Linked DNA regions of Homo sapiens: all the other regions are linked to region 1. Evidence: promoter capture Hi-C in human tissues and cell types (Jung and others, 2019). All regions are on one chromosome and are shown on one strand. Each heading gives the region's core, a stretch centred on a gene start or on the middle of the fragment in contact. The rest is flanking DNA. Distances are from core to core; before and after follow the strand shown. Region 1 holds the start of LRFN5 (leucine rich repeat and fibronectin type III domain containing 5). Region 2 has its middle 180 kb from the start of LRFN5-DT. Region 3 overlaps LRFN5 (leucine rich repeat and fibronectin type III domain containing 5). Region 4 overlaps LRFN5 (leucine rich repeat and fibronectin type III domain containing 5). Region 5 overlaps LRFN5 (leucine rich repeat and fibronectin type III domain containing 5). Region 6 has its middle 200 kb from the start of LRFN5-DT. Region 7 has its middle 240 kb from the start of LRFN5-DT.

The links. The method cuts DNA at HindIII sites, captures the fragments that hold promoters and counts their contacts. A contact is called where the count stands out against the background at its distance.
Region 2: a fragment that was not itself captured here is called in contact with the fragment with the promoter of LRFN5 in region 1 in 6 of the 25 tissues and cell types used here (H1 embryonic stem cells, adrenal gland, bladder and 3 more).
Region 3: a fragment that was not itself captured here is called in contact with the fragment with the promoter of LRFN5 in region 1 in 1 of the 25 tissues and cell types used here (dorsolateral prefrontal cortex).
Region 4: a contact is called between a fragment that was not itself captured here and the fragment with the promoter of LRFN5 in region 1, in 1 of the 25 tissues and cell types used here (dorsolateral prefrontal cortex).
Region 5: a fragment that was not itself captured here is called in contact with the fragment with the promoter of LRFN5 in region 1 in 2 of the 25 tissues and cell types used here (dorsolateral prefrontal cortex and mesendoderm cells).
Region 6: a fragment that was not itself captured here is called in contact with the fragment with the promoter of LRFN5 in region 1 in 2 of the 25 tissues and cell types used here (dorsolateral prefrontal cortex and mesendoderm cells).
Region 7: a contact is called between a fragment that was not itself captured here and the fragment with the promoter of LRFN5 in region 1, in 6 of the 25 tissues and cell types used here (H1 embryonic stem cells, mesenchymal stem cells, neural progenitor cells and 3 more).

Annotation. Positions count from the first base shown.
Region 1 is chr14:41,604,952-41,608,677 of GRCh38, forward strand. LRFN5 (leucine rich repeat and fibronectin type III domain containing 5) reads left to right here and starts at 1,925. Exons shown (of 6, transcript NM_152447.5): 1 at 1,925-3,611. The HindIII fragment of the contact is 3,229 bases long and covers 78-3,306 here.
Region 2 is chr14:41,414,481-41,418,286 of GRCh38, forward strand. No RefSeq gene overlaps it. Among named protein-coding and RNA genes, the nearest start is that of LRFN5-DT, 180 kb to the right of the region's middle. The HindIII fragment of the contact is 6,754 bases long and covers 1-3,806 here.
Region 3 is chr14:41,811,975-41,815,503 of GRCh38, forward strand. The region is part of intron 2 of LRFN5 (leucine rich repeat and fibronectin type III domain containing 5); the gene reads left to right. Among named protein-coding and RNA genes, the nearest start is that of LRFN5, 210 kb to the left of the region's middle. The HindIII fragment of the contact is 5,230 bases long and covers 1-3,529 here.
Region 4 is chr14:41,789,261-41,792,685 of GRCh38, forward strand. The region is part of intron 2 of LRFN5 (leucine rich repeat and fibronectin type III domain containing 5); the gene reads left to right. Among named protein-coding and RNA genes, the nearest start is that of LRFN5, 180 kb to the left of the region's middle. The HindIII fragment of the contact is 5,559 bases long and covers 1-3,425 here.
Region 5 is chr14:41,827,541-41,830,925 of GRCh38, forward strand. The region is part of intron 2 of LRFN5 (leucine rich repeat and fibronectin type III domain containing 5); the gene reads left to right. Among named protein-coding and RNA genes, the nearest start is that of LRFN5, 220 kb to the left of the region's middle. The HindIII fragment of the contact is 6,945 bases long and covers 1-3,385 here.
Region 6 is chr14:41,387,938-41,391,727 of GRCh38, forward strand. No RefSeq gene overlaps it. Among named protein-coding and RNA genes, the nearest start is that of LRFN5-DT, 200 kb to the right of the region's middle. The HindIII fragment of the contact is 4,179 bases long and covers 391-3,790 here.
Region 7 is chr14:41,352,323-41,355,699 of GRCh38, forward strand. No RefSeq gene overlaps it. Among named protein-coding and RNA genes, the nearest start is that of LRFN5-DT, 240 kb to the right of the region's middle. The HindIII fragment of the contact is 3,862 bases long and covers 1-3,377 here.

The DNA of each region.
Region 1 (3,726 bases), core at 675-3,174:
CACGTCCTAAAGTACTTGGAAGTGCTCGCTGGGATCTGCCTGTACTCCAGGTTGGTGCAACTCCACCGCCCTCCAGTGAAGTCCCAGAAGCGATCAAGTTTAAAGTGAAAGGGGGATGGAAGCATTTTTTCTCCCTATGCCTTCGGAGTCTGTGGCTTCAGTTTGCTGCAGGTTCTCTCCGTGGACTTCTCAGAAACCTCAACTTTCCACTTCGAGGGACAGAAAGCTACAAGGAAAACGCTGATGGTTTTGGTGGAGATTCTCCTGGACTTCAGTGGTGTCCTCTGGTACATCTGTCCGCGGTGTCCCTTTGGTTTATTTCTGTGGTCTTCCTGCGCAGTCCCTCAGCGGCTCGGAGTTTGGCCTTCCAGCTCTCCAACTCAGATCCTGAGCCTCCTAAGCTCCCGCGGAGACCCTGAAGTCCCGGATCTGGCGCCGCTCGCCGACCTGGAGGGAGGCTGCACCGCTGAAGTGCAGTCTCGGAGCTGCGCTCCTCTGGAACAAAGCAGCCAGACGTGGCTTGAGTGGATTCCTAAGCCAAGGATTGGATCCGGAGTACCAGGGGCAGAGAGGGGGAGCAGAGGAAAGAAAGGAGATGTGAGGAGTTTCCACCTAAAGCACTTCACTCCTCGTGTTCTTCCCCGACAGAGATAGCTGTGTGGTTCTTCCTTACGCGTGGGTGCAGGTGTGCGCGCTTGGGGTGAGCCCATGGTTGTGCTCGAGTATACGGGCGCCTGTGCACCTCCAGGGCAATGGTAAAGCCTGGCAGAGCTCTTTTTGGAACAAAATGAAGGAGCTCCATATCCACGGAGGCCACCCGTATGGGCCTTTGCCAAGTAGGGCAGAAGAAGCCCTTGTTAGCCAGCTTCCCTTTGCAACTTCCTACTCTTCCTTTGGGTACAGACTGGTGTCTGGGCTAGCTAGGATCACAGCTGAGAGCGAAGGTGCTCTCAGTGTCCGAAGACCACGTGCTGGTGAACCCACAATGAGAAGCGAAAGGGTTTCAGGACTCTAGCAGAAAGGAAGAGCAAGATTTCACTCAGGGTTTCTTAGAAGAAAGAGTTAACTTTGCTCACTGGCTTTTCCAGGATGGAGGGAGTGGGGATAGGGTCGGGGAGAGAAGCATTGGGAGTCTTGTCGGAGTCTCAAGCAAAACCAGGCGAGGGCTCCGGGCAGATCCATTCCCGCAGGGCCCTGTCTAACCTCCTTTCCAGTCGCACCTCTTTCCTGCTTTAGACCCTGCGTCTGTGCCGGTGACCTTAGAGACTAGGTCTGGCTTATGAAGACTGTTGGGCTCCCTTTCTGCCCTTCACATAGTAAAATGTGACCAACTGCAGTATTCGTAATGTCTGATGCTGAGCTGAGTTGATTCCCAAATATAAATGTTCTTTTCAGAATCCGCTCCCATCTGATTAGTAAGCAAATCACCACCCACAACTAAGGGGACAGCGGAAGCCAGCCTCAGATGACTGAAACCCCCAAGTCAGTAGCTCTCCTCAAAATTTCCGGCGGGTTATTATAGATAATGACTTTTCCCACCGCCCTAAGCAGCCGAAGCTTGACTCAGTGATGATTCTCTCTATCCCGTAACTGCGAGGAAGTGGGCGATCAGCAAATTGCCCTTTTGCAGGAGGCTGGGGACGCCCCTGGAAGTTCGCTTTCATTCTCCAGGTTTTCTGCCTTTTCCCTTCCCCCTTCCTGCAACGCCCCCGCGCCTCCTCAGCCTGGGGATTTCCTGGCGCTTCGCCGGCCCTCTCCGCAACCCCCTGATAAATCGGTTCAGAACCAGTCTGGCTGGGAGGCCCGAGGGCTGACAGCAGCGGAGCGGCCCCGGCCGGGGTCTCACGGACTCTCGGGGTCTGGCCGACACGGCCGCTCCCGTCACTGCAGCGCGGGCTGAGCTCACGGCCGCGCGCCCGCCGCCGCCGCCGCCGCCGCCTTCATGCTGCAGCGCAGGGCTCAGTTCCACGCGGCCAGGAGGCCGCCGTTGCCCACACGCGACGCTTTGGGAAGCCCAGCTCCCGGGTCCGCCCCGGCCGCGGCCGCAGCCCCGGACCTCGGCTGCTTGCCTCGCGCCTGAACTGCGGACTCGCCCCAGCGCGGTGGCCAGCGGGCGGGGCGCTGTGTTCCGCGGCGCGCAGGGAGGCGGTGAGCGTGTGCAGAGCTGCCCGAACGGAGGACTATGTATGTGTGTGCGCGTGTTTGCGTGTGTTTGAGCGTGTTTTTCCTTCTTCCCTTGAGGATGTGAATTGTTTAGCAGCTGGCTGCTCCCTTAGGATCCTTGACTTTGGGGAGCTCTGGCTGTGAACACAGCCCACCCATATAATCCATTTTGCACGGTCCGTTATATCAGAAAAAAAAAGCGCAACTGGACGGGGGTGGGGCAGACCAACGAAACCTAGACAGACACACACACACTCAGAGGAGAGAGGAAGAATTGAAAGACTTGAGAAGACTTTGATAACCTCCCTGCTGGCCCTTCTGTGTTCCGGAAAGATCCTGGATGTTGGCTACCTTTTCAAGTCATCTTGGCATGTCTCTAGTGTTTTGTAAGCCGCTTTCCAGCTAGCTGCGTGTGTGTGTGCGCGCGCGTGTGTACGCGCGCGCCTATCTGATGCATTTGACTGTCTTTTATCCAACTGCCCAGAAGCAAATGTGTTAACTCGGCGATGCCCCTTCATGCCCGGGTTCTTGCAGAGCTCTGAGGACGCCCAGACCCATTTTCCTGGCTGGATTTGGAGCGGCTGCTGGGCTGTGGACCCAGGTGTGTGGATCGCTTTACCCAGAAGCTTGGAAAGCGCCAATATTAACCTGCTTCCAGGTACATCACAAGGTCAAGAGAGTGTCTTGCAGCCCTCTTGTTTCCGTGTATCTACACCTTCTTCTCTTGGCCAGAAGGATATTTACGTTTTGGTTCACAGCATTTGAAGCCAAAAGTTCAGCCCTTCGAACTGGTTTGCTATACAAAACAAAACAAAACAAATAAGGTAATGAGGATTGCTTATTAAACTGCTTAACAAAATCCCCGACTCTTCCTCAGCCCTTTCTCGGCTCCCTCCTCCCCACCAAAATGTCACCAGCTCTTGAATTACGTGGATTCGGGTTGGAGGAGAACTTGAAGGAAACGTGATTAAAGGGCTATGCGAGAACGCTCTCTTTGCTGCCCGCGGTCCGGTGGGCTTCGAAGCCAATCGTGAGAAGGACCGGTTCCCTCCGTGCTGCTTCCTCCCCGTGCAGTGCTGGGTGTGCGTGTGCGAGTGTGAGTGCAAGTGCGCGCGCGCCCGGGTGCGAGTGTGTGTGAGTGTGAGCGTGTGTCTGTGTGTGCGTGCGCGGCCGCCCTGCCTCTGCCCGCTCCCCGGGCGCGGAGCCGCGGGTTTCATGGGGCGATTGCAGCGATTCCCCCACCCAGAGCGACCTGCGGGCAGCGGCGGCAGTGGCAGGAGCCGCCTTTCCGATTCCCTACGATGCGGGTGCTGAGCTATGGCAAAGGGCAGCGAAGTGACGAGCGAGACCCGCGTACGACTGTGAAAGCCACCTGGAGCCACCTTGCCGGGATTGTACCTGCAGGCAGAAAGTCTTCCTACGACCGTCTTTTCCCTTAGAGGCACCAGGTAACAAACCAACGATTACTCGCCTCACCCAATTTCCTTTTGATCTTGTTTCTAGTGTCTTATCTGCATTGCAGGCTACTTTACTTATTAATGTTTTGAAAATCATTGGGAAGGG
Region 2 (3,806 bases), core at 432-2,931, 190 kb before region 1:
TGCCCAAAGTGATACACTCTCTACATGAATATATTATGCATATTTTGTTTAAGCTGAGACAACATTGGATTATCCCTGACTTAAAAATCTTTCTGAGTAAAACAATTTCAGCAATGTTGAGTGGAAAGAACTTGAGTGTCAATTGTGCATTCCTTTTTATATGGGAACAGAGTCAAAACAATCATCTACAAATAATCAAAGCTTGTTTTATACCTGTGTACTAAGCTCACCTCAGACTGAAAGAAGAAACACTTCCATTGTGGTACATATCCTAGCATGGCACAGCACCTTGTCTTAACTTAAAAACAAAACAAAATAGTGTGGAGTAGCAGTCGTTGGAGATTCTGTGGGAGGATAAAAAGGGGGTGAGGGATGAGAAATTACATAATGCATGTAACGTACACTATCCAGGTGCTGATTACATTAAAAGCCCATACACTAAAACCCCAATATATCCATGTAATAAAACTATGCTTGTATGCCTTAAATGTATACAAAAATAAATAAATATCATGATAGCCAACCTACTTTCGGTTTGATTGCTTGTTCAAGTGTACGTGTCTGTGCAACTGGTAGCATGGAATAATTATTTCCACGTATCTATTAGTGAGTATGATTTTGAGCTACCAAAAATCAAATCAAATTTCAGTTAATAAAAGTATTATTATTTTTTATTCTTCATTATTCCTATTATATAAAATACATGTATCACAACTGTCTTTTTGGTATTCTAAAATACTTCCTAGATCAAGCCATACTCACAAAGACTAAGACACTGTGACAGAGACTACTTATTCTCTGCTAATCATTCTACCCATTCACCACAACAAAAAAGAAAAAGAAAAAACAAAACACCCCTGATTATTATCTGGACACATCACTCCCAAGGATAAATATTATATTTCTTATTCCTTTAGCTCTAGATGTGCCTGTGTGATAGAGGCTTCTTAATGGCAGCCTTGAAAGAATAGAACAGGGTTAAGGACATGAATAGACAGTTCTCCAAAGAAGATATACAAATGGCCAACAAATATGTGAAAAAATTCTCAACATCGCTAATGATCAGGGAAACGCAAATCAAAACTACAATGTGATACCACCTTACTCCTGCAAGAATGGCTATAATCAAAGAATAAAAAAAAAGTAGATGTTGGCATGGATGCAGCGATCATAGAACACTTCTACACTGCTGGTGGGAATGTAAACTAGTACAGCTGCTATGGAAAACAGTGTTGAGAGTCCTTAAAGAAGTAAAAATACAACTACAATTTGATCCAGCAATCCTACTACTGGGTATCTGTTCCATGTGAGAAATGTGCGTGGGGCGAGGAAAAGGTGCACACACAATTCGTTTAAGGGTAAACAACCTTTATCCCATGTAATGGCAAAGCAGATATAATAAGAAAATGATATAATCAGCAGATGATATAATAAGCAGATTAATACAATAAGCAGACTGATATAATAAGCAAATTATAATAGGAAGGGGAGAAGGGAAAAGATATTTACACTCACCAGACTATGGAGGATTCACCACCAGATTGGGAAGCAACAGCCTAGGCTCCAGAATCAGAAGGAACAGCCTGGGCTCCACAGTCGGCCACTCGTCTGTGCAGAGATGAGGAGAGGTCTCATGAAGCTTTGGCACAGTCTGGGACCCTAGCTCTTTTTGTAACAAGTTTTTTGGCATGAGGCCCAGTCACGAGGGCCCTTCCCCACTGAGCTCAAGGAACACAAAAAGGTCAACTTGTTTTTTGTGATTCTCTATTGTTTTTCAATAACTAACGTATAGGAATAGATTGAAGTAGAGATTTCTTGGAAACAGAGCTGGATGAAGCCTCAAGGGGCTCACACAACCTGTTCCAGGACTTGGTAACCATTGTTTGTGTCCATGTTCAATTGAGTTCAAATTTAATGTTTAACTTTTCCTCCACAGTATCTACCCAGAGAAAAAGAAGTCATTATTCAAAAAAGATACTTGCACATGCATCTTTATAGTAGCACAATTCACAATTGCAAAATCGTGGAGTCAACCCAAATGTCCATCAATCAATGAGTGAATAAAGAAATTGTGAGATATATATGATGGAATACTACTCAGCCATAAAAAATAATGAATGAACAGCATTTGCAATAACCTGGATGAGATTGCAGATTATTATTCTAAGTAAAGTAACTCAGGAATCGAAAGCCAAACATTGTATGTTCTCACTGATATGTGGGAGCTAAGCTATGAGCATGTAAAGGCTTAAGAATGATACAGTGGACTTTGGGGACTTGGGGGGAAGAGTTGCGGGGCAAAGGAAAAATACAATAAATGTGGTGTAGTGTATACTGCTCAGGTGATGGGTGCACCAGGATCTCACAAATCACCACTAAAGAACTTACTCATGTAACCAAATACCACTGGTTCCCCAATAACTTATGGAAAAATAAAATAAAATTTAAGAAAAGAAAGAAGAGGACAGTTATCTTGGCATACAAGGACACAAGCCTGCAGTCAACGACAGGAATAAGATGTTGCCATCTCATCTGAGCCTCTTTAATCATATGGTTTCCAAAGATATTCCAATAATTTAGAGGAGATGAGGGACTGGGATGGAGCTGAGCATGGTCCGTAAGGAAAGAACCACAGTCTTCAGACTCAACCTATATCTAGGCAAGATCTGTAGCTTTTATTAGTTATATATAAACCCAAAACTAAGTTGTCAAAGAATCACTTTCACAGAAAATCCTTCTTGGCTTGCAAAAGCCAGTCGTTGTTTAGTCCCTAAAGTTACCAAGAATAACACTCCCAGTCCCCCCAGCCCCACTCTACCACCATATCCACAACAATTGCATCAGCAGGATGCTGGTTAGGAATTTGGCAGTCCCCATAAAGAGCATTCATAACACAGTTAACTTAAGATATGACCATGAAAAATCAATAAGGAAGAACTTCCCAGGGAGTTATGGTTTGCCAGGTAAGCTAGCCAAATAATTTGTACTTTATAATTCATATATGGTAAGATTTGATCATTACTATAGACATGTAAGTACTATATGTTTCTCATTATACTTTTTCCCAAATGAGAATATCATGATTATTTTGTGTATTCATGCATTTGGGGATGGGCAAACTATGCCCCAAGGACAAATCTGACTTGTTGTATTGTGTGTGTGTGTGTGTGTGTTTGTATGTGTGTGTGTAAGTACAGCTTTATTGGAACATAGCCATGCCCATTCATTTTGTCTCTGGCTGCTTTCACCCTTGAGTGGCTATTAAATAGTTATAACAGAGACAATATGGCCTGCAGAGCTTAAACTATTTACCATCTGGCCATTTACAAAAAAAGTTTGGTGATCCCTCGTCTATATTATCATTTTATATTGAGCATGTTAAGACCAAATTAGTTGTTTCTAGACTAATGGTAGCTATATCATACTGAAAGGAAAAGATTGAACATTGACTAGAGTGTCAGAGAAAAATCCATTTTTTCTCCTTCCTATAAAAAGCAAAAAACATATATAGTTATCTACACTGCATGTTGTTGGACCCTTGAAAAATGTAATTTTCTTTAATTACCCTTTTTAGTAATAACATCTATTTATATTAAGGATTCTTGTAATAAATAGTCCTATGAGCTTTTTATTGTACATTATAAAGATATTATCGAGAAAGATATTATTGAGTTTTTAAATTCATTATGTTATATCATACTATACATTCATTTCTCCCAAGAGAAATGATCATGGTGCCTAATGATATTAAAAATCTTCTCAGAAGTTTGTTTTTATCTCATGAATATAATAAATTGTGTAAATGA
Region 3 (3,529 bases), core at 90-2,589, 210 kb after region 1:
ATGGAGTATAAGATAATTCAAAGTAATTCTTTATAGCATAACATCTTTTAAAAAGTCAGCACAAAGCGTGAAAAGTTATTCTGGTGAATATGGAATATCTACTATCTAGGACATTACACAGAAGGTAACCTTATTATAAACTAATTAAATACTCTGAACCAATTTTTCATTTAACAGAAATTAAACTGAGTTATTACCTTACACAAATCCATATGTACTTGTATATATTCCAAAATGATATCAGAGAAATAATACATAGATTGTTTTAAAACAAAATGATCAAAACAGGTCTTCATTTTTTACAGAATTTGGATTTATTATATATTAAAATGATTTTTAACTAGGAATTTCTATGAGTTTTTTTTAAAGACTAGCATCTTAATAATATTATAATTTTAGCTCCCTTATTTCCTGGGAATTGTGATAAACTAATCAGAACAGAGCTCCTTTGTTTTAAGACATTCATTTTTAATTTCTTAGTACCTTCTGGGGGTACTGATTCCTTAGTACCTTCTTAGTATACTTGGGCAACGATGGACAAAGATTATTCTCAATTATATATACAAAGGCACACAGAAAACTTGCAGTTTTATTTTTGTAACTTCAGCCACATGTCAGAAGTAGAAATAAATATATATATATAAATTATTGAGTCAACATTCAAAAAGATCTGTTTGAAAGAGATTGTAATTAAAATTTTGTATTTTTCTTTGCTTGAACAAAATGATTTTAATACAATAAAATTTGTTAAATAAAATTGATGATGAAAAATAAAATTGATGATGAAACAATGTTTTAAATGATTGCCTTCTGAGCAATATTTTATTTAGTATAGACCAAAATTATTTCAGGAGAGAACAAGGCAGTGTAAGTAATGATGGAAAGTTTCATGAAGAAACTTAGATTGTGCTAGATCCAGGAATGGGGTGGTGATTTGAAGAAGTCATCACGTTCCAGACTAGAGAAAAGACACACACAGGTAGCTTTCAACTGAGGAAAATAAGTAAAAGATGCTAACTGCATAGAAAATATAGGTTGAAAGTGATGAGAAATAGATAGGAAAGTTGTTTCCCACCCTTTGAAGTGGCTGTATTCCTAATACTGATTATGCAGAGATAATTTGAAGATGACTGTGAATACTAAACTACATTTGTTAATAGTCCACTCAAATCTGTTTTCAACTAACTACAGAGAACAATTACATTAACAATTTCATCCCTTTGATTTTTCTTTTTATTACAGTTTAAGTTCTGGGATGCATGTGCAGAGGGTACAGGCTTGTCACATAGGTATACATGTGCCATGATGATATGCTACACCCATCAACCCACCATCTACATTAGGTATTTCTCCTAATGGTATCCTTCCCCTTTCCCCCAACCCCCTGTGGCCCTGGTGTGTGATGTTCCCCTCCCTGTGCCCATATGTTCTCATTGTTCAACTCCCACTTATGAGTGAGAACAAATGGTGTTTAGTTTTCTGTTCCTGTGTTAGTTTGCTGAGAACAATGGTTTCCAGCTTCATCCATGTCCCTACAAAGGACATGAACTCACTCTTTTTTATGGCTGCATAGTATTCCATGGTGTATATGTGCCACATTTTCTTATCCATCTATCATTGATGGACATTTAAGTTGGTTCCAAGTCCTTGCTATTGTGAATAGTGCCACAATAAACATATGTGTGCGTGTGTCTTTACAGTAGAATGATTTATAAAACCTTGGCTATATACCCAGTAATGGGATGGCTGGGTCAAATGATATTTCTAGTTCTAGATCCTTGAGGAATCGCTACACTGTCTTCCACAATGGTTGAACTAATTTACATCCCCACCAACAGTGTAAAAGCATTCCTATTTCTCCACAACCTCTCCAGCGTCTGTTGCTTCCTGACTTTTTAATCTAATTGTGGTTTTGATTTGCATTTCTCTAATGACCAGTGATGATGAGCTTTTTTTCATATATTTGCTGGCCACATAAATGTCTTCTTCTGAAAAGTGTCTGTTCATATCCTTTGCCCGCTTTTTGATGGGGCTGTTTGTTTTTTTCTTGTAAATGTGTTTAAGTTCCTTGAGATTCTGCATATTAGCCCTTTGTCAGATGGACAGATTGCAAAATTTTTCTTCCATTCTGTAGATTGCCTGTTCACTCTGATGATAGTTTCTTTTGCTGTGCAGAAGCTCTTCAGTTCTTTAGATCCCATTTGTCAATTTTGGCTTTTGTTGCAATTGCTTTTGGTATTTTAGTCATGAATTCTTTGCTTATGCCTATGTCCTGAATGGTATTGGATTTAGAAAGCCAATGTTTAGAGCAACTTTTCTAATCCTTTCTTATTATGACCTTATTATTCTGGTCTTAAAGGGGCTACACTTCACTATAAAAGGTCTTTTTTACTGGCAATCAATAAATACTAATTGAACAATAGGTTTAATTAAGGTTTAATTAGGAAGGCAGGTGCTTTGATTCCTGTGTACCCTATTTACAAAGATTTACTGGTAGTACCCAGTTTTCTCCTTAATTTCTTGACATAGAGAGTTTGAATTTATTTCTTAAATCATATTCTGTAGAAAGAAGCATCAATTTATTTTATTAATAAACTGTTGGCCTTATTTCTTGAGTATTAGTTCTGGCCTGGCCTTGTTAGGTTAAGAGAATCTTTGTCTTCTTGGGCCTGTCTTGACAATTCGTGCTTCTAATTACTGCTCCCCCCACTTTGTATTTTGTCACAACTAACCTACAGAAATGCCATATTCAGTCAACATCAAAACATGTCTTTTTCATTGTTGGGTATATGTTAGACAAATGGACAAATTGGACGGCATCTTTAGTGTTGGGTGGTGGGTGGTGAATCTAATAGTTGGGACACTTACTGTGAAACACTTCTGAGACGGAATAACATTTAAGCTTTGGTATGAAGAAAGAGAAAGAGTATTGCTGGTTAAGAGAGGGCAGAAGAGCATTTTAGATTAGAAGAACAGCATGGAAAAACATCCATCGAAAAAAGCATGGATGGCACTTGAAGAACTAAAAAAAAGTCTATTCCAATAATAACAAAGTAGTCTACAGATGTCCATTATATCCAGTTGATTAATAGTGTTGTTGAGTTCAACTAGGTCCTTACTGATTTTCTGCCTTCTGGATCTGTTTATTTCTGATAAACAGGTGTTGAAGTCTCCAACTATAATAATGAATTAATATATTTCTTCTTGCCATCCTATCAGTTTTTGTTTCTGCAAAACAGATGCTCTGTTTTCAGGTACATGCATGTTAATAATTGTTATATTTTTCATGGAGAATTTGCCCTTTATTATTGTGTAATGCCCCTCTTTATATGTAATTAATATCCTTGGTCTGAAGTTTACTCTTTGAAATCAATATAGCTACTCTTGCTTTCTTTGGATTAGTACTAACATGATGTATGGATCTCCACTTATTTACTTTTAATCTTCACCTGGTTTTGTATTTAAAGTGGGTTTCTTGTCTAGATGCGGTGGCTCACTGGAATCTATAATCACAGTGCTTTGGGAAGTT
Region 4 (3,425 bases), core at 312-2,811, 180 kb after region 1:
ATTTGACTGATTTATTTTTAAATTTTGTTCCAACTATTGGATATAAAAAATTATGGAAATAATTCCAGTATATGGATAATATTTTAGTAGATTAGATCACATGGAGGATTTACCTTTGCTTAGAAATGGCAAGTAAGCTGGAGGCATCTTCCTCCTCTCTGATATCGCTTGATATTCACTTGAATCCAACTAGAATTTGAATGAATACAGACCTAAATGTCAGTCATTTTGAGGACTAGCTTATTTGTAATGCACACATGCCCTTTGGAGTAGCCTATTTTTATTGCAATCAAGATTCTGGTATTTCTACAAAGGCTACTCTACCTGGAAAGTCCCAAACTCCATTTACTGTTCTCCCAGACCCAAGGGACTCTCAAAAAGTACACTCTGCATCTTAGCCTCTCACTCACTTCTATTTCACTATAGAGTCTTCATTTGTATCTAGGATTATGTGTGCTGTTCTTTTCTAATTTTAATTTTCCCATCATTTTTTCTGTATCTGCTAAGATAAACATAGTGATTTTATAATGTTTAACTAGCTTTGCATTCCTGGGATAAATGTTTATTGGGTAGGATTTTTTAAATGTATTTTTTGACTGGTTTCGTAATATTTTCATAAACAATTTGCATCCGAGTTTATGAGTGATTTTCCTGTAATTATCGTTTTTTCTACTTTCAAGGTTATGCTGCCTCATAAAATGCATTGGGGACTTTCCCCTTTTCTGAGTCTTTAGGAGTGTTAGTGTATAACTTAAATCATTTATTCCTTGAAAGCTTTCTCAAGTTTTACAGTGAATACATCTGAGCCTGGAATTTTCGTTGTGGAAGATGTGGTATTATAAATTCTACTTCTTTGATGATTAAAGGACTATTCAGGTTTTCCATTACCATTTAAACTAGTTTCGAGAGACACTTTTTCTAGGAATTTGTACTTTAAAGCTAAATTTTAAAATGTATTGTTATTTACTTATGCATAAACAACTTTATTATTATTTTATGTCTGCATTTTCTGTGGTAGTGTTCTCTTTTTCATTCTGGATGGAATTCCTATTTGAGTCTTATTTTTTTTCTTAATATTACCAGTGACGTATAAACTATTTGTTCATTTTGTCCTTTAAAGGTACTACTAATGACATTGTTGATATTTTCTCTGGTATGTTTGTTTTCTATTCAATTTCAGTTCTTATCGCTACTATTTCCTTCCCGTTACTCCCATAATTTATTTTAATATGTTTTTTTCCTAACTATGGTGGATTTTCTTTTTCTGCTAATTAATATTTGCTCTTCTTCTTTAATATACATGTAAGGCTAATTTTGTTTTTTTTTTTTAAGGGCTGATTTAGTTGCAATACATATTATCGATATGTAGTATTTAATAACCATTGAGTTTAAAGCATATTCTGATTTATAAAAAAGAACTTTATTTATCAGTCGATCATTTAGGAATGTTTCTTATCTTTTAACAGTTATGACTAATTTAAAACTTAATTCATTTTGGTAGGGAACCATGGTCTTTATTCCAGATTGAAATATGTTAAGACAATGCCTTATGAACTAGTTTACAGTCCAATTTTTAAATAAGCTTTTAGCATATGATATGACTATTTATCTTATAATTGTTGGGCATTATGCACTATACATTCAGCTGTTAATTATGTGACTAAATCCTTTATATACTTAATGTCTTTTTTCTTTTTAGTCTATCAGTAACAGAGAAATGTGTATTAAAATATCCACATATTATTTTCAATTTACCTATTTGTCCTCATGGTATGACAGAGTTTTACTCTATATATTTTGTTGCTATGCTATTTGGTGATTAAAGATGGTATTGACTTTAAGAGTTAAAAATGTTAACATTATTAACCCAGATCATCTGTATATTTTTTTCCTTAATACCAATTTGATTACCTAGTGTTTTTTTTAAAAAAAGTATTTTGGAAAACATTCCAACTTTATTGAAATTGTCGTTTTGACACTCATTATACTATGGATTATAAAATAAATACATCAACAATAACCTGGAGGCAAGGTGATAAAAGATCTGCTATGTATCATTTTCTCTACAAATGCAGATGATCAGTCAGTATCAGTAGAAGATTTCTGTTATAGTTATCTACCTGTCTCCTCAGCATAATGAATGTACTTGCTTCTAAGGAGTGACCAATTATGTCTGAAAATAAAGTAAGATTAATAGGCAGTAATAGGTAACAATGACTCAACTTTTTCCATATGATGTATTTTGTCAAAGTGGACTGCCATTTATTTCCCTTAACTTTGTCTAAAATATTTACTCATTTCTGATATGGGAAGTAAAAATTTCAAGACTGAATAGTACTTAGGTTGATAGTTTTTGTCACAATCATGTCATTTTAAAAAATGTTTCCTGTTAACAGTATCACTGATTAACTGTGTTCAGCTTTTTTACTGATAAAAGTGTCTTTGATGATACTATGTTTCCATTAAGAGGATTATTTAATCTCAACTTTCAGGTAATACTGCTGCAAGAGATGAGATAATATCTATGATCTATGTTTTATTCAAAGATGAGGCTATTCTGAAAATTTATGCTAGATAAGACTTTTGAATGTCACTATGAACTAAGAAGTAATTACTGTGGAGTCTTTGAATATGAAGCATCATATAAGCAATACAGTTCCTTTCCTTTGGCTATCCATTATGGTTGAATAACAATTTATTATGCTTTTGCAGCAAACATGATTATCAGGGGAATCCGCCCCCAATATTTCAACGATGTTCTTTCTATTTTCCATAAGTGTTGGCCTTCTAAGAAATAAAGAGAAAGAATACAAAGGGAGGAATTTTACAGCTGGGCTGCCGGGGGTGACATCACATATCGGTAGGACCATGATGTCTGCCTGAGTCTCAGACCAGCAAGTTTTTATTAAGGGTTTCAAAAGGGGATGGGGTGTAAAGCAGGGAGTAGGTACAAAGATCACATGCTTCAAAGGGCAAAAAGCAGAACAAAGATCACATGCTTCTGAGGGAACAGGACGAAAGGCAAAACAGAACTACTGATAAGAGTCTATGTTCAGCTGTGCACGTATTATCTTGATAAACATCTTAAACAACAGAAAACAGGTTCGAGAGCAGAGAACTTGTCTGACCACAAATTTACCAGGGTGGAGTTTTTCCCCACCCTAATAAGCCTGAGGGTACTGCAGGAGACCAGAGCATATTTCAGTCCTTATCTCAACCACATAAAACACACACTCCCAGAGTGGCCGTTTATAGACCACCCCCCAGGAATGCATTCCTTTCCCAGAGTATTAATATTAATATTCCTTGCTAGGAAAACAATTTAGCAATATCTGTCCTACTTGCACGTCTGTTTATATGCTCTCTGCAAGAAGAAAAATATGGCTCTTTTTGCCTGACCCCGCAGGCAGTCAGACCTTAGGGTT
Region 5 (3,385 bases), core at 594-3,093, 220 kb after region 1:
AAATTTTTTAAAAATGAAAAAAATGAATGGCACATTCATTAGCCATTCCCTGAAATTCTGGGCACCATCTGATATTAATTTTTCCTTGACATAAATTCCAAAAACTATGAAAACAAAACCATAGACCTGCTACTCGTTAACCAATTAAAGCAAAATTAATTATATTTGAATAAGATTACTATATCTTTCCAAACTTAAAATTTAGAACCATTTGTTTTAACAATTTTTTATTTGTTTATAATTGCCTGAAATACCAACACATTTCATTGCTTATATGTTTCTAAATTTGGGAACTAGTTCTCATTTACATCTTTCTGTTCTCCTACTTTATTTTAGCAGTAAAAAGAAATGTAACATACATGATCTTCCTTGCCAGTTGCCTTGATTATGTGCTTTTATTCTCAAAAGTTTCAACTATTACCCTTCAAATTTGCACTTGCTTCAAGGTTGTCCTTAATGTTGAGCATTTGGTTCATGTCACAAGGGGACTATATCTGTTCACAGTAAAAATAAGTATGTATTGTTATATCATGAAACTGAAGTAAGTTAAAGGGAAATAGGTCAGCTTTTTTCAGCTTTTTCTAGTCATAAACTTTATGTCAGTAGAACAGACTGTACGTTTTAGATTTTAGATTTGAAGAAAACCTTTCAAACTCAAAATAGTTTCTTTCATTTATTATCTAAATACAACTTCTTCTTAAGTTATTGCTGTTATTATAGGATATTAATTAACCTAATAACGTGTGTTTTCTCAAAAAAATAATATTCACAGATCAAGATTTGAAATTCAAACAAATCATCTATTTTGTAGGCATCAGATTAGCTAGAGAGGGTAGTAGTGCTAGTAGAATCAAGTTTATTTGCATTCTTCACAACTTCTACCCTAAAGCAAACAGATCAAGTAGTTGATGAAGAAATGTTACATACTAAACAAATGCTTCTTTAACAAGCACATCCAAATCAACATGTTTAATACCAAACTCATGATCGTTTTCTGAAACCTATTCCTTTTTTCCCACTTTTCTCCATGTAGTATTCCTCAAGTCAGAAATCTGGAAGTCCTTTATGGCAACTGTCCATTTGTTTACCTATTCAAACCTAATAAGAAAATAAGTCCTATTGATTCTCCAGCAAAATTAACTCCCAAATCTCTTCACTAAATCTCAAGCTTCTATTGTCAACACTGTGATAGTCAGGGACACTACTATTTCTCACTTTGAGTAATAATGTTATAACTTTCTCCAATCTCAAATTAACTACTAGATCATTTTTCTTAAAGTTGAAAATGCTTACAATGGACTTTATTTTATGACCTCTCTAGACTTACCTGATGCAATTTCCTTACAACAGGCATCAGATTCATGATCCTTTTTCAGTTGTTCTAAAGCTGTCTTTCCTAATATGAGATATTACACATAATGTCTTTTCTTATAATAATCTTCCCTCTCTCTTCATTTATCCTTCTCCCACATTTTATGACTTAACCATTACTCATTTATTAGCTTAATTTTTATTTCCTCAGAAAACCTTCTTCTTACTTCTCTGATGATAAAATCACTCCTAGTTTCACAATCCTAGAGTACACTGCTTCTTCTTTATATGTCATTTGCATAATTACATGTTTAATATTTGTCACCTCCACCTCCACTATACTCTGCATTCTATGAAGACAGAGATTAGTTCTGTGAACATAGAACTGATTTTGTTACATTTCCTTACAGATAACATAAAACCACAACCCATGAATGAATTTTTGAAGATAATTACATTAAATGTCAATATTAACAAAAGAGCCACAGAGATCATGAGTACTCAAATCCACAAAAAACTCATATCTTCCTTTTGATTTATTTTTAAAAGTATATTTCATGAAAACATTAGTTTTTTAAATAGAATTTATGATGAGATGAGCAATTTCAGACAAATTGTCGACACTGTCTGGTGGTCTGTTTATCTGATTGACCTTATCTTGAATGAGGTAAATTATAAACCATATTATCCAGGTCTATTAATGGTTGTGTTCCTCTTGATTTTTATCTTTTTTTTCTGAATTAATCTGGTTATTTTCTTAATGACTTCAAATATATCTTTGTTTATAAAATTCCCTTTCATTAAGTGGTTATATTCCTTTGTTCATTTCAAATATTATATATTTGTGTGTGTGCTTACCTTTTTATTAATTAAACTATTTGCTTTTTTTTGCTAAGTCAATATTTTTTGAACTTTCTGATTCCACACCTTTTTTTAGTAATACTTTTTTTTTAAATTTCTGCTGTAACATTTATACAACCTTTTTATTCTTTTCTCAAATTATTTTCTTTGTCTCTTTTTAAAATGTATTTACTTGAATGCTTAGTTCATCTATATTTTGTTCATTATTAACTATGAAACTATTTAGAGCTTTGGATTTATCTCTAATTGTATTACTTAATACATAAATAAACTTACTATTTAGAGCTTTGGATTTATCTCTAATTGTATCTTAATACATAATTAACTTTTGGCTTTATTTATCTTATATTTTTAAATTATGGATTTCATTTTATTTCAGATCATACAATTATTTTAACTTGTATTATAAATCTTATAAATTTTAACTTGTATTATAAACTTATAAATCTGTGGTTTATATTTCTTGTGTTTATATCTGTCTTTTTTCAATTGTAGTAGTGTTATGTAGCCCATACAACTTTTCATGTTTTTTATTGTTGTTTTTGATATTGCAAAATTTCTCTTTCTGGCTTATTTCATGATCAATACTCATATGTAATAATACTCATATATTTTGAATTCTAACTTAGCTTTCAAAAATATGATCCTTAAAAGTCAAAGCTCAATCTATTAAATACTGTTAATAAAATATTTAAAGGGTTTTATTAATGTTTCCCATCAGCTTTATCTTTGATTTCAATACTGCTGTTTGATATATTGAATATTGTGAAAGATTTATCTTTAGAGTACCTCATATTTTCATAAATACACCCTTCTATATCAGTCAGTGTTGATCAGGAAAGCAGAGCTACTATAAATTTTGAAGAATAAAGAATGAATTATAGGAGATGAAGTCCAGAAATAGCACTTGGAGAGTCAGAGAAGAGTCAGAAACTAGCACTCCTGCAGTGCTGGCTCAGGTAGATAAACCTGAGCTGCAGGGAAGCTGGGGATGCTGACTTGCCAGAGGGGAACCATAAAGGGAAGTTGATAGAGATGTGTGTGAAAGGCTGCTCCTGCTCTGTCTCCTGGTGGGCCTGTTGGTCAGCAGTGTCAGCAGTTGGAAAGAACTGGCCATGGAACAAGGGAAGCCAGGACAAGCTGCAACCTGCCAGCTCCTCTGAGTTGCCTCTTCTCTCATCTGACTGCAACAGCCTTCAGAGATTAGTAGCTG
Region 6 (3,790 bases), core at 1,230-3,729, 220 kb before region 1:
TTATATCTCTAAGAATATAAGAAAAGGATATACATTCCTTTTATATCTCTAAGAAAAGCCGCTAATTATTTCTAATGTTGTTAAAAGTATTACTGTAAAATAATAAATCATGAAATTGGCTCCTAATTTCATAAATGACTTTTACTATAATATACTTCAGTATTAGAATGTATTATAAAAATAACATTTGGGTAATAAGAGATAATTATTTCAAATATTAAGTTAAAAATATTAACTAATACTAGATATTTGTTTTTCTAGATTTATGGAAATATCACCATAAAAATGTAATTATAGACTTATGAATATAGACATCTTTAACATCTCAGTCTGAGGAAATTTATTGAAATCATATTTTATCTCTACCACTTGACAAAGGGTCAAAAAATATTAAGGAAGAAATAGAAAAATAAAAAAATTATGAGAATCATGATCACTGAACCAATTACATATTTTGCCCCTCTTAATAATTATCCCCTTTCTTCTCTCAAGTCAAGGTAGAGAAATTGAGAGAAATACGGATGGTCAAAGAAAGAGAGAGTGAAGAAAGAAAGAGGGCATGAAAAAGTCTGCAGGAAATAGGGGACATGACAAATGTAATTTTTTTAAGGAAAATATCAAAAATTTAGACTAAATTAGAGGGTAAAGGGGCCTATATTTAAACTACTGTGTCACAAAGTATTCTCTCACAAAACTGAATACTTAAGATTACAAAAGACTATTAACTGCCACAGCAGCTACCCTGCCACAGATATCCATGTTGGACACATGCACATACATTTACACGCACAAATCCCTCCAAGTATAAGTAAACAAGCAAAGGAATGTGATAGGCATGGCAAAGGGGAACGTGGGAGAATAACTTAGAACTATTTTTCAATATTTTTCTAAGGCCATTTAATGACTGTGATTCAGGTTCTCTTCTTCTACTGTGAAAAATAACTCTTGCTTCACAGTGTGCACAATACCCTTAACATGTATGTTTCTACATAAAGAATAGAAATCCTACTTTTATATTCTTGAGGGAGTATTCTTCCCTCCAATGCCATACAAGAGGGCATATCAGAATAGCACAATTAATCCTGATGTTCAAAGAGGTGAGGTGTCTATGATAATCCATTTCCTGGAGCTCACAGCAACCCCAAATATTATTGAATTAGACGGTAGAGAGAAAATGTCTGTGTTGTATAGTCTTGAAATCATTTCTCTAAATGTGTCATAATATACTGATGGACCATAAATCTTCTATTCTTACCATATAGAATTTTAAGGACAGTAGCTCCAACAATTTTGTTATTTTGGTTGCTTTGATTGTTTCCTCTTTATTTTTGGTTAATTTTCCATTTTTTGTACCATGTCTTTTGCTTTGAAGATGAAGCCTTCCAATACAAAAGCTGTAGATGTCTGTAGTGGGGAATGTTGCACTAGCTGAAAAGTAAACAGTAAAAGCAAGGAACAAGAGAAATTCCTGAATTTTGAGATAAATAATGAGAACTCTGAGAAATGGAAGCATATCAGTCATGCTAACACCGTATTAAATGAATTTAGGTCTCCTTTTCATAATGTAAATGCAAAGAAATTAGAGAGGAAGAGCAGATCACTTGGATAAAATTGCTGACTGAACAACACTTCTCAACTTCTAGCACTGTAAGAATAGTATAAAAAGTAAAAACAAACAAACCCTCACATAGTCATTCAGTAACCATTCAACATTCTCACTGTACCCATTCAACATTCTATATTAGAAGATAATTATGTCTCAAGGTACACTTATCTTAGCATGACAGCTTAATTGTGTTGGATTGATTTATATATTAAAGAAAATAAATTCTAGTTTTATGGCGATGTTTTGTAGTTTGTTGCCTTGAAAATCTAGAAGGATAAAGGGATTCAAGGAAAAGCAAGCACTTAAAAAGGTACTCATAGGGCACAAAAATGTAGTAGTGACCTAGATAATTGGTTGTCAGTAAAGATGGATGTGCTCAACAATTTTTAGGAGTGATGATAGTGGTGATGATGTTTGTTCAAACTGGTTACTATTCTCTGCTATAATTTTCTTTCATTATAGCAAATATTATATGAAAATTTTGTACTATGTATCACATATTTAATGATCACTTGGAAGATGTCATACACTCCTTATTCTCACTCAAATAAAGGGTACAAGACAGCACAAGAGAATCCAAAGTCATTGATAAATGAACCTGAGGCAAACTTTCAGAATAAGATGTGATAGGCGACAAACAAGAAGTGTAAACACTTACAAAATAAGAATATGTGAATTCTATGAACCATTAGGGAAAACCTGGGCTTTGATCAAGAACATGGGTTGGAAGCTCATGCTATTTGATATACACACTTTAAAAGAAAGGGGGATAGGAAACTGCAAGGGAGTAGGGTATATGGGTAATAACTGTGTCCTCTTGTGAGAGACGCTATACCATGCACCAAAATTGATCTCCTATCCCTGGGCATAAAGCTAGAAATTTAGCAGCCTCATTTGCAGTTAAGTACAGCTGTGTGGAATTCTTTCCCACACAGTGGAACTGAAATGCGACTAGCAGTGATGTAGCCCAATTTTTGGCCTATTGAAACCAAACACATTTCTTCTTCATCTCATTCCCCTTCCACTAGCTTCAGGCAAATAATTGTCTTTTCCTAGTAGAGGCATACCACAAAATGGAAGAAACTTGAATTCCTAGATCACTACATGAAGGAGAGCCATGTCTTTATCTTGACCACCCAACTAAGACTGTGGCAATAAACAAGAATTACGCTATTGTATTATGCTTGTGAAATACTGGGATTTATCTCTTTCTAGAGTCCAGTCTCTCCTAACTAATGTCTGCCATCTTGTTGGGACCTCAAGGAAGGAGAATGTTTTTGAGAATACAAGTATCCAAAATATAGGAGGCCACTTTGATTTTGTGGTTTTGATAAATTTTTTAGAATCTTGTATATTCATGAGTCTCTTCATTAATTCCAAAATAAATAAAGAAAATAAGCTTGGCACCCTCTTGAAGCTGAAGGTAAAGCTTCTACTAAAAAGATGTTGCAATAAGACTAGACAAAATAATAAACATATAAATACACGACATGCGATAAGGCCTATGACAGAAAAAGTAAACCTAAGGGAAGATAAAGGTGTAAACAAGGGAGAGGTGTTATTACAGATGAGTCTGGAGGGCTTGGAAAAAGGGGGCATTCCAGATAGTGACTGAAAAAAGTATGAAGGTCAAATAAATAAGCAAAAGAAAGCAATATACTTTCCAGAAACTGAGAGTAGTTAAATAATTTCAAGAATCATGTATAATGAGGTTATACAGTGACCCATCAGGGTTATTATGTGAGACAGGAATTATATAACATGGTTCAGAATCTGGACTTTATATTGCAGGCTGTGAGAGGCATTGGAGAATTTTTAGCAAAGAAGTGATATCATTGCATTTTCTGCTGAGGAAAGATTACTATGGTAACCATAAGGAAGGTAGATTGGAGGAGGGATAAGACTGATGACAGGGAATGCCAATTAGAAGGTTGATGTATTAATCTACATAAGAAATAATGAGGCCTGAACCATGTCATGGTGTGGGAATTAAAGAGAAGCACAGTTTGGAGAGGTGCTGAGGTATTTCCTCAGTAATTGGATATATAAGATTTGAATACCAGCAGCTTACTTTTTAGATTCTATCTTATTTACTTGCCACCCAATCTTCCCTGAACCATTCCTCGGTAAAAAAACATACCTGAGATGTAATGTCATTTGGTGGTCAAGCGAACTTCTGCTGGT
Region 7 (3,377 bases), core at 282-2,781, 250 kb before region 1:
AATTTCTTTGTGTTGGAAATGTTCCAAATTTTCTATCTATTTCAAAATATACAAAAATTATTGTTAATTATAGTCACTCTACTATGCTATCAAACACTAGTACCTATTTCTTTTATCTAACTCAAGCTTGTCCAACATGAGGCCTATGGGCTGCATGTGGCCCAGGACAGCTTTATAAACTTTTTTAAAACACTATGAGATTTTTTTTTTTGTGATTTTTTTTAGGGCATCAGCAATTGTTAATGTTAGTGTATTTTATGTGTAGCCCAAGACAATTTTTCTTCCAATGTGGCCCAGGAAAAACAAAATATTGGACACCCCTGAACTAACTGTATTTTTGTACCCATTCATCAACCTCTCTTAATCCTTCCCTGCTCCCCCTACCCTCCCCAGACTCTGGTAATCACCATTATACTTTCAGCCATTGTGAAGCTGAACTAACTTTCATTCTTTAGGATGTCTCTGCCCTTCCCCTAAAGCTGTAAAAAGCTTTCATTCAATGATCAGAGAGACTTGGGCAATATTAACAATTTTGGAAAGACAGAACATGTTCTAAAATCTCCAATTTTTTTCAGCTACAATAACATGATATCAATTACTACAATCTATTAATTCATAAATAAAACTTTTCAACTATATTAGTATAGCTCTTACAAAAACCTACTTAAAATCCTTACTTGAAATGGGCAAATCAATTATGTGAAAATATCACCAGTATGAAAACACAAAACACATGATTTAAAGGTCAGATTAGTGAGTAATCTGTCACTCTACTATGTAAAAAATAAATCCAAATATATCTGTAAACAAATCCAATACAAATTATGTTTAAATCATAAAATTGGTTTACGCACAGTATTATACTTTATCCTTGACATATGTAATCATGAGTTTATTGATTTATGAGAAAAATTAAAATCGCATGAATTTTTCAGTCATTTAGTCAACAATTAGATATTGATGTCTAAGTAATTGAAACTCTTGGTTAGAGGCACATTGTATACAAAGCTAAACATACAAAATCTGCTCTATATTTAATTTATGTCAGTTGTAAATTTTGTTACAATAAACATGCTAATAGTATATTTCTGTAAAATGTTTTATAGACAGAAAACTATTTCAAACACTTCATTTGCTTATGCTGTGAGATATACATGAAATACATATACCTTTTAAAAACTCAACCTTTATAATCTTATATCCAAGACAATAATAACATCAACACTGAAACTTTCAGTTTCAGTCAATTTGCTCAAAAGTAGATCAGTTTTGCCCTTTGAAGTACTTGAAAGTTTATTTATATTAACTTAAGAGACACAATGCACTTAGTACAGTTTTGTTACATGGATATATTGCATAGTGGTGATGTCTGGGCTCTTAGTGTAACCATCACCCAAATAATGTACATTGTACCTATTAAGTAATTTCTCAACCCCACTTTCCTCACACTTCCCCACCCTTCCGAGTTTCCAATGACTATTATTTCACACTCTATGTATACACATTACTTAGCTCCCAACTTTTAAGTGAGAATATGGATATTTAACTTTCTGAGTTATTTCAGTTAGGATAGTGGCCTCCAGTTCTGCACATCTTTCTGCAAAAGATATGCTTTTATTCATTTTTTGTGGATGAATAGTATTCCACTGTATATATAAAACAGGTTGTATTTTAAAATTTTCAATATTGCGGTTCGTATTTTCATTGCCTGTCTTATCTTTCCCTCATCCTTCTTGTAACAGGATGTTCCCCCTTCAACAGGACACATAATGTACCAAAATATAATATTTCCCTGGCAGTGTAATTTTATTCATTCATTTATACATTCAACATACCATACTTTATTTTTTAATGCTTTTTTAATGCTGTGAGGAGACCTTTTCTGCCTTAATTACATATTCCAACAAATTCAGCCTTTAAGGTTCCATCTGCATGGCTTTCCAAAAGCTATGTATGTTGGAGCTAATTGAAAGTACAAATAATAGTGAAAAACCTCTAAGAAATATAAGAATATTTCATTCATCAGTGGAAGCAGCACTGAATTAATATGTTATTTAGAAAGAGACTGTGGCAGCCATGAGGCTGTACCTTGCAGACCTCCAACTACAGGGAGCATAACTGGCCTAGGCCATGAGAGGCTGCTCTGAGATTACGGCTGTGTTTGTGCAGAGACCACGCTTCTATGTGCTGCTCCCAGCCAATTACTAAGCTCCATAGGATACTGAGCAGGCCATTTCCTGGGAGACATATGGCTCCTTAGGCTAAAGAATGCTTAAGGCCTTGTCAGACATGCCTCAGTCTAGGACTTTTCCATCAAAACTCTCTTCTTCCCTTATCCCTTTATGTTGTGTTAGATTTGCGTAGCGATCTGATGGCTATCCCAGTCTTCCCAATTTATTTCTCCTTTTCTCTTGGTTTTTGCTTCTCTGAGGACCTGGACTAACATAAAGCTAAATAAAGACCTGTGTCAACAGTAACAGGGAAACAGCCAACAAAGAAAGAATTAAGAACTCTATTGAGGGAGGAGGCAATTTGAGGAGGGTAAATTGCAGTCTAAATTATTTTCGTTATGACATTTCTTTGTTTCTTAAACCCATGTTGTAGTCTTCCTCCAGGGTGGTATTGCGTGATAAACTAAGCTTTAGATGAATATTTCAATTTAAGTGCCTAAGCAAAAAATTTAAACCGATTACCACTGTTTGGAGGGAGGTCCACCATAGACCCTGAGTGTTTTTGCACATTTTGCTTACTGTGCTCACCCTCAAGACATTCTTCTCTTAATTATAAGTAGTTCGGTAATTAGCCACATAGGCAACTATGTAGCTCAAGCCCACAAGGGAATGATGACCATGTAAAGTCTTGCTCCCTGGAGGGAGGAAGACTGGCTTGTTTGCTGCTTGCTACCAAGTTTGCTGCTAACTCAGAAAGTACTGGGCCCTTGGCCCTGGGATCGTCTCCTGTAAGACAAACCCCTTCCTATGCAGGCATAATCTGTCCCTCCATATTGCCCAGTGCAATTAGGGGTCAGAGAATAAGCATAAACTTTCTGACACACTGGTTACTGCTTTTTCTGTGGCTATTAATGCCTTTTGTCTCTGCTTCAGTAATCTCATGTCTTCTTCCACTGTCTAAATTGTTAGTTTGCAAGTAGAGTAAAATTGCATACTCTTCTCAGTTGGCGACACTCACTATTTCTTTTTTCTCAAAACTGCTTCTCTTCTATGTTCTGTTTTTAGTGAATGAAGCTATTAGTCATGCTACAAATAAGAAAATTTCTCAGATATCTAAGAATACCAATGGTGGTCCAGTATGACATATAAAAAAATAAATTTTCTTAAACATTCTTTTTCTGTAAGCAGAAAACAGTTTTAATTAAC